2 separate regions of the Homo sapiens genome follow, and region 1 is linked to region 2. The links are contacts of gene promoters, found by promoter capture Hi-C in blood cells and fetal thymus (Javierre and others, 2016). All regions are on one chromosome and are shown on one strand. The core of a region is centred on a gene start or on the middle of the fragment in contact, and the rest is flanking DNA. Distances in the headings are between cores, read along the strand shown. Region 1 holds the start of TMEM237 (transmembrane protein 237). Region 2 holds the start of KCTD18 (potassium channel tetramerization domain containing 18).

Region 1 (2,700 bases), core at 1-2,500, 1.1 Mb after region 2:
CAAAAGGGTTAAATTTTAGACACTCTTGTAGTTTGTCCCATTTAGCAATCCATTCGTTCGAACAGTAGATTAATGCAAGTACTACAAGATTAGGACGAGGCAAGCTGCCGTAATACCATCCAGTAGTCAAAATTACAATTGGAGAAGAATGACAGTCACAGGAACGCGCTATTGTTCTAAAGATGCTACGAAGCGCGCGCGATCGATCCCAGGGCTCTGTTCACGTAACTGATTTCAAAAGTCCCGCAAAAATGACGTTCCACCCACCCAGAGACCCAACCTCTAATCCTCAAAAGTAGGACGGCTCAACTGAAGACAAAAATCCTAACAATTAAAAGTAGCTAAGGCTCGCTTACCACAGGATTCTTCCCCATTCTGCGTTTAGCCGGCCTCGGCGGCCGCCGGCCCCCAAGCACCTGGCGCCCCACCCCTCCCGGCTCGGTCGCGCGCGCAGGCGCAATGCGTCATCGGGCCGCGCCGCCTGGCTAGTACCCCGCGCGCAGCGCCCTGCGGGGATGTTGCGGTGAGAGGCGTGCAGGGACCTGGATTGGCCAGTCCAGACTAGCCCTGCCAAAAAGGGGGCCTCGGAGTTGGGGGTAATGTGCCCAGGAGCAGAAATCTGGCGACCGTGGCGCTGCAATCACAGCTTTCCCGTGGTTTCCTAAGTGGTGGCGGTGATTTGTTTGCGGGAAGCGGGGCGTGACGGAAGACCTTAATTAAAGGACTCCGCAGGCGAACAGATCTCTTCTGGGCAGCTACAGACCTCTCCTCGGAGGAGTCTAGGAGAGGCCTGGCTGGAAGCCCCGGCACCCGCCGGGCCCCGGGCCTCAGATGAGTGAGGCGTCGTCGTGGCAACGCGGGCTCAGGTCCCCGCAAACTTCATGCCAGGCCTCTCTCTCCCACTCCGGGAGTTCGGTCCCGGCCTCGCCTGCGTCTCCGTCCCATTCCTGTGAACACTGGAGGGGCGGATGCGCGCACCCCACGAGCAAGGCCCTCCCTTAGTGATTCCCAGCTCGTTGGCGCCCCCCCACACACACCCACCCCCACTGCCAAGTGTAGCTGTTTACCCGCCACCTCTCGAGGCCGACGCGCCCCTCGCCGCTCACCAGGTGGCCCTCCTCCAGCCGAGCCCCCGAGTCAGTCCTCATGGTGCTCTCCCCGCGGGGCTGCCCCGGCGCAACCGCCGGCGGCCCGAGCCCAGCTCCCCGCGACGCAGCGGCCTCCGGGACCTGTGGGACGCCGGGGCTTCGTGGCGCCTGGCGAGGCAGCCGCCCCCTGAGCCAGGTCCCCGCCCGCCTCTGTCCTGCCAGGCGCTGCTGGGTTTGGGAGGAATGCGTTTACTCTCCAGGACCAACGAGTCTGTGCAGGCCTGGGTGTGTGGATGTGTATTAATATAGGCAATTCTCACATTTTCTCCGATTGCTTACCCTTCATCCCACAACTGTGTAAATCAAATTTGGAAAAACTTTTTCTCAACCTTAAAATCAAATCCAACCTCACATAAATATCACTACAAACTACCTGATTTGCATCGTTTGGTTTGGTTGGGTTTGTTTTTTTTTAAAGATAACTTTCACTTTAAGTAACAGAGAACTACAAATATTTTGAATCATGCATTCTGTTTTACAGTTAAGAAAGAAATGGGAAAGATGGAAGAATGGTGTGGATATGGAGAAGAGAATGATGCAGAAGATGAACAGATACAGGGACAGGGAAAGCGCCTGGAAATCTCAAATCTGGGGAAAGAAAGAGAAACAGCACTTTGTAATGGCATCCTAATCTTGTTACCAAACAAACGGGGCTTGTTGCCCTATACGCACAGAAGCCAATATTATGGCGCTGATTTTTTGAGAAAAGTTTTCATTGTGAGTCAGCTAACAAGGAGACAGGAGTATAGCTCTAATCTGTCTCCCTGTGTTGGCTTTAAGACAGTATTTTTATTAGAAAACGTTTAGGGGGTGGATTCTGGGATTAGTAGGTGATTGGTGGAAGGAAAGAAGCCATCTGGAAAATCCTCTGGCGTTCGCAGTTACCTCTTCATGTCCCTTCATGGGTCGCATGTGCAAATTTTGGAGGGAGTCAGTGTGAAACATGGGGAAAGATTCAAGCTGTGACGCCAGCAAGCTCATTTTGTACAGACTCCAGGTAGCCATCCGTGTTAGTACTAACCACTTTCAGCCAGTTTGCTTTGTTTTGTTTTGTTTTGTTTTTTAATCTCACAATGGAAGAAGTTTAGGCGTTTTATTTAGCAAGTTGTTTTTTATCTGCCGTCCTGCATGCTCAAGAATTTCTGTTAGTCCCTGGTTTCTTTAACTCTGAGACACGGTTTCACTCTTGTGATTTTCTATATATAGGTCTCTGGGATTAATCCATTGCCTTTTTCTAATTTAGGCCTGCATGTAGATATTGGCTGTTAAGGAAAATTAGTGTTTGTCACACCTCTCATGAGAATAATTTTTTCCTTGTAGGCCGATTTGTAAATAGTGAAGGCAGTGCAGTTTCTTGTAGGTTTTGATTTTAGATGTGAAATGTGTACATTAAACCTTTCTTGCTGAGTTAGTCAAGTAAGCACTTTTTGTAAAAGATGTTTTCATAAAACACGTTTCATAGAGTACAGTTTCTAAAGTTAACTATTGCTTATTTTATTTAGGAAAGCTCTTTATTTAAATCTTAAAAAGATCATGTGAAATCTGCGAAAGG
Region 2 (2,743 bases), core at 210-2,709:
TAAGATCGTTTTGTAGATGCCAGCTAGTCTCCAATAAAATGGAAGGAGACCATTAAAATCTGAGGAAGACCATGTGTGTAGAATACGGTCAGCAACAGAAACCATTATGGGCCAAAGGTCCAGCCTTCCAAAACCACTTATGGATGTGACATCTCGCACTGCCTAGAAGTCCTGGGAGCAGCACTCCAAAGATCCATGTGTGAGAGCCACCTCTGAGGCATGGGATGGAACTTGTTCCCTCTGCCTCATTACTGGCTCCCTGGAATCCTATCTATTCTTCAAGGCCTTCAGCAAACCTAATTTCTTGCATGACCGTCCCACGTATCCTTCTGCCCCCCAAGTTAGAATCCTTGCACAATTCTACAAATATACTGTGTGTCTGTCCACTTTTTACCCCACTTGTTTAATCCCTACTTTTTGGTCTGTAGGCCAAGGAAGCCAGGGCCTGTGTCACTCTTAATAACTCCCATTTACTGAATGCTTATTATGTGCCAGCCATTGTAAGAGACACTTGACACACTTTACCTAATTCACACAAAAACTCTATTGGATGGGAATTACTGTCCCTGTTGACAGATGAGGCCATTGGGGTAAAAAAAAAGAGTGATGTGTACAGGGGCCACACAAGGACTGACTGCTAGTAGGTTGTGGAGCCAGCCCCAATCCAGAACGGCAGGACGAACCCCAAGTTCTTCCTGCTTCACCCCACACCGCCTCCTCCAGCACTGTTTCACCCCTATGGATCCTGACCCAGCCCTTTCACTCTCTAAGCATCTGTCCATCTCAAGACTTGGCTACGATAACACAGCAGCACCCCGATCCCGAGGATTTAAGAGCTACTCCTCCTACCCCAACCCCAGGCAGTCTCTCCTAAGGATAGGAACATCATCATTCCAAGGCCACACCAGGGGGGCACTCCGCAGGCCCCATCCTCAAAAGCACCCAGTTAGGCTCCCTGCTATGTGGAAAGTGTCCAGCCCTCGGGGACAATGTCCCCCAGAGTGCATTCCTATGATCACCTGCATCAAAACCATCAGGGACGCTTGGGAAAACGAAGACACTCCGGCCACAGCACACAGTTCCTCAGAAAGTCTGAGGAGGGGTCGGGATCTGCCCGCGAACCCCACTTTGAAAAACATCGCTCAAGGGGCTCACACTCCTCTTCCGAAGCGGGAAGAGCCGGGAGGAGCTGGGGAGCCAGAAAGCCCCGCCACGGTCTTCCGCGGCCTGGAGACCCCAAATCGGCCCGAAGCCCGAGCCTGCAGCCCGGGGCGCGCGCGTTACCAGCGCGGCCCGTGCCCTTCCTCAGGGCGCCCCGCCGCCTTCCGGGCCCGCGGCCCATCCCGCGCCCGGCTCTTCCGCACCGGGGGGGTGGGGCGGGTCGGCAGCTTCCCAGACTGACCTGCGGCCCGCCAGACCCTCGGCGCGGCCGCCGGACGCCGCGGGGCGGACGCGGAAGTGAACGCCTTCTCAGCTGCTCGGCAACTCGGGAGCAGAGCGGCCCCAGCGGCGCCCCCGTGCGGCCCGGCTCTGAGGCAGCGGCTCAGGGAGGGAGGGAGGCCACGTCCCGGGCACGCCACGCCACGCCACGCCCCGCCCCCAGATTCGTCTCGCCCCAGTGGGCCGCCTCGGAGTCGGGTGGGTCTTCCATCCCGGAGGTAAGGGAAACACACGGTAGAGAAGGCCAGGGCTGAACCCCAAGGGACGGTCTTGTGTGTTCAGAGGCTGGTTTTACAGGTGAAGAGAAGAAACAGCCGCAGAAGTTGCGATTGTCCAAGGTCACTTAATAAGTGGCAAGAATTAGGATGTTAAGTGTTCTCACCCCCAGGTCAGTGCCCATCCCTCCAAACAGGGCTGCTCAGTGCCAACGTGTGTTAATATATTGCACTTGGATAAGTCTATCTGGATAGTGTCTGCAGCTTACAAAGCTTTTTCACACACAGCATTCTTGTTTAGTCTGTGTGACAGTGATATAAAGGGTGATATTTATTTCCCATTATAGCAAGGAAAATTGAGGCGAGAGCAAACATTTATTCAACACTTTTGTACACCTGACACTGTGCTAAGTGCTTTGCATGCACTACTTAATTTCCTGTTAACGATAACCCTAAAACAGTTCTTCCAGTTTCTAGCACCATCTTACCTTGTGCAAGGTACTGTGCTAGATATTTCAAGAGAAATATAACAGTCCTGTTTTCAAGGTGCTTCCCCAAAATCAAAAATATTTGGTTCCAAATTTCCCTGACTGGCTCTTAGAAGAGAATAAGCCAAAGAGAGGTAAGTCAACCTATCCCCTTAGATATTAACAGTCTTAGGAGAGAGGGAAGGTTTGTTCAACCTGTAATTATTAAGCACTAGCTATGGAGCAAGCACTGAGAGTAAAGGACTGGAAGAGACAAATAATGGGCGTTCAACCTTACTTTCCAGTACAACATGCAGAAAACTTGTTCTGTAAATATTTTAGGCTTTGTGGGCCATGCACAACTACTCAACTCAGCAGTTGTAGTCTAAAAGAAGGCATAGGCAAAACCTGAACAAATGAGCATTGCTAGTTCCAACTTTATGGACACTGAAATTCCAATTTCACATAATTTTCATGTGTCAAAAAATATTCTTTTAAAAATGCAGCTTTTTCAAACACTTAAATATGTACAAGCCATTCTTAGATCATGGGCCAGACAAAAACAAATGGTGGTCCATGGGCCATAGTTTGCCTGCCCTTGTTCAAGTGGGAGAAACAGAC

The links. The method cuts DNA at HindIII sites, captures the fragments that hold promoters and counts their contacts. A CHiCAGO score of 5 or more calls a contact.
Region 1: a contact is called between the fragment with the promoter of TMEM237 here and the fragment with the promoter of KCTD18 in region 2, in 3 of 17 cell types (monocytes, non-activated CD4 T cells and total B cells). The highest score is 6.3, in monocytes.

Annotation. Positions count from the first base shown.
Region 1 is chr2:201,642,253-201,644,952 of GRCh38, forward strand. TMEM237 (transmembrane protein 237) reads right to left here and starts at 1,251. Exons shown (of 13, transcript NM_001044385.3): 1 at 1,107-1,251. The coding sequence starts at 1,148. It overlaps MPP4 (MAGUK p55 scaffold protein 4), which reads right to left. Exons shown (of 22, transcript NM_033066.3): 22 at 2,622-2,700. RefSeq lists silencers at 350-539, 1,110-1,369. The HindIII fragment of the contact is 8,699 bases long and covers 1-2,700 here.
Region 2 is chr2:200,508,609-200,511,351 of GRCh38, forward strand. It overlaps KCTD18 (potassium channel tetramerization domain containing 18), which reads right to left and starts at 1,460. Exons shown (of 7, transcript NM_152387.4): 1 at 1,020-1,460. RefSeq lists a silencer at 1,233-1,692. The HindIII fragment of the contact is 2,465 bases long and covers 1-1,926 here.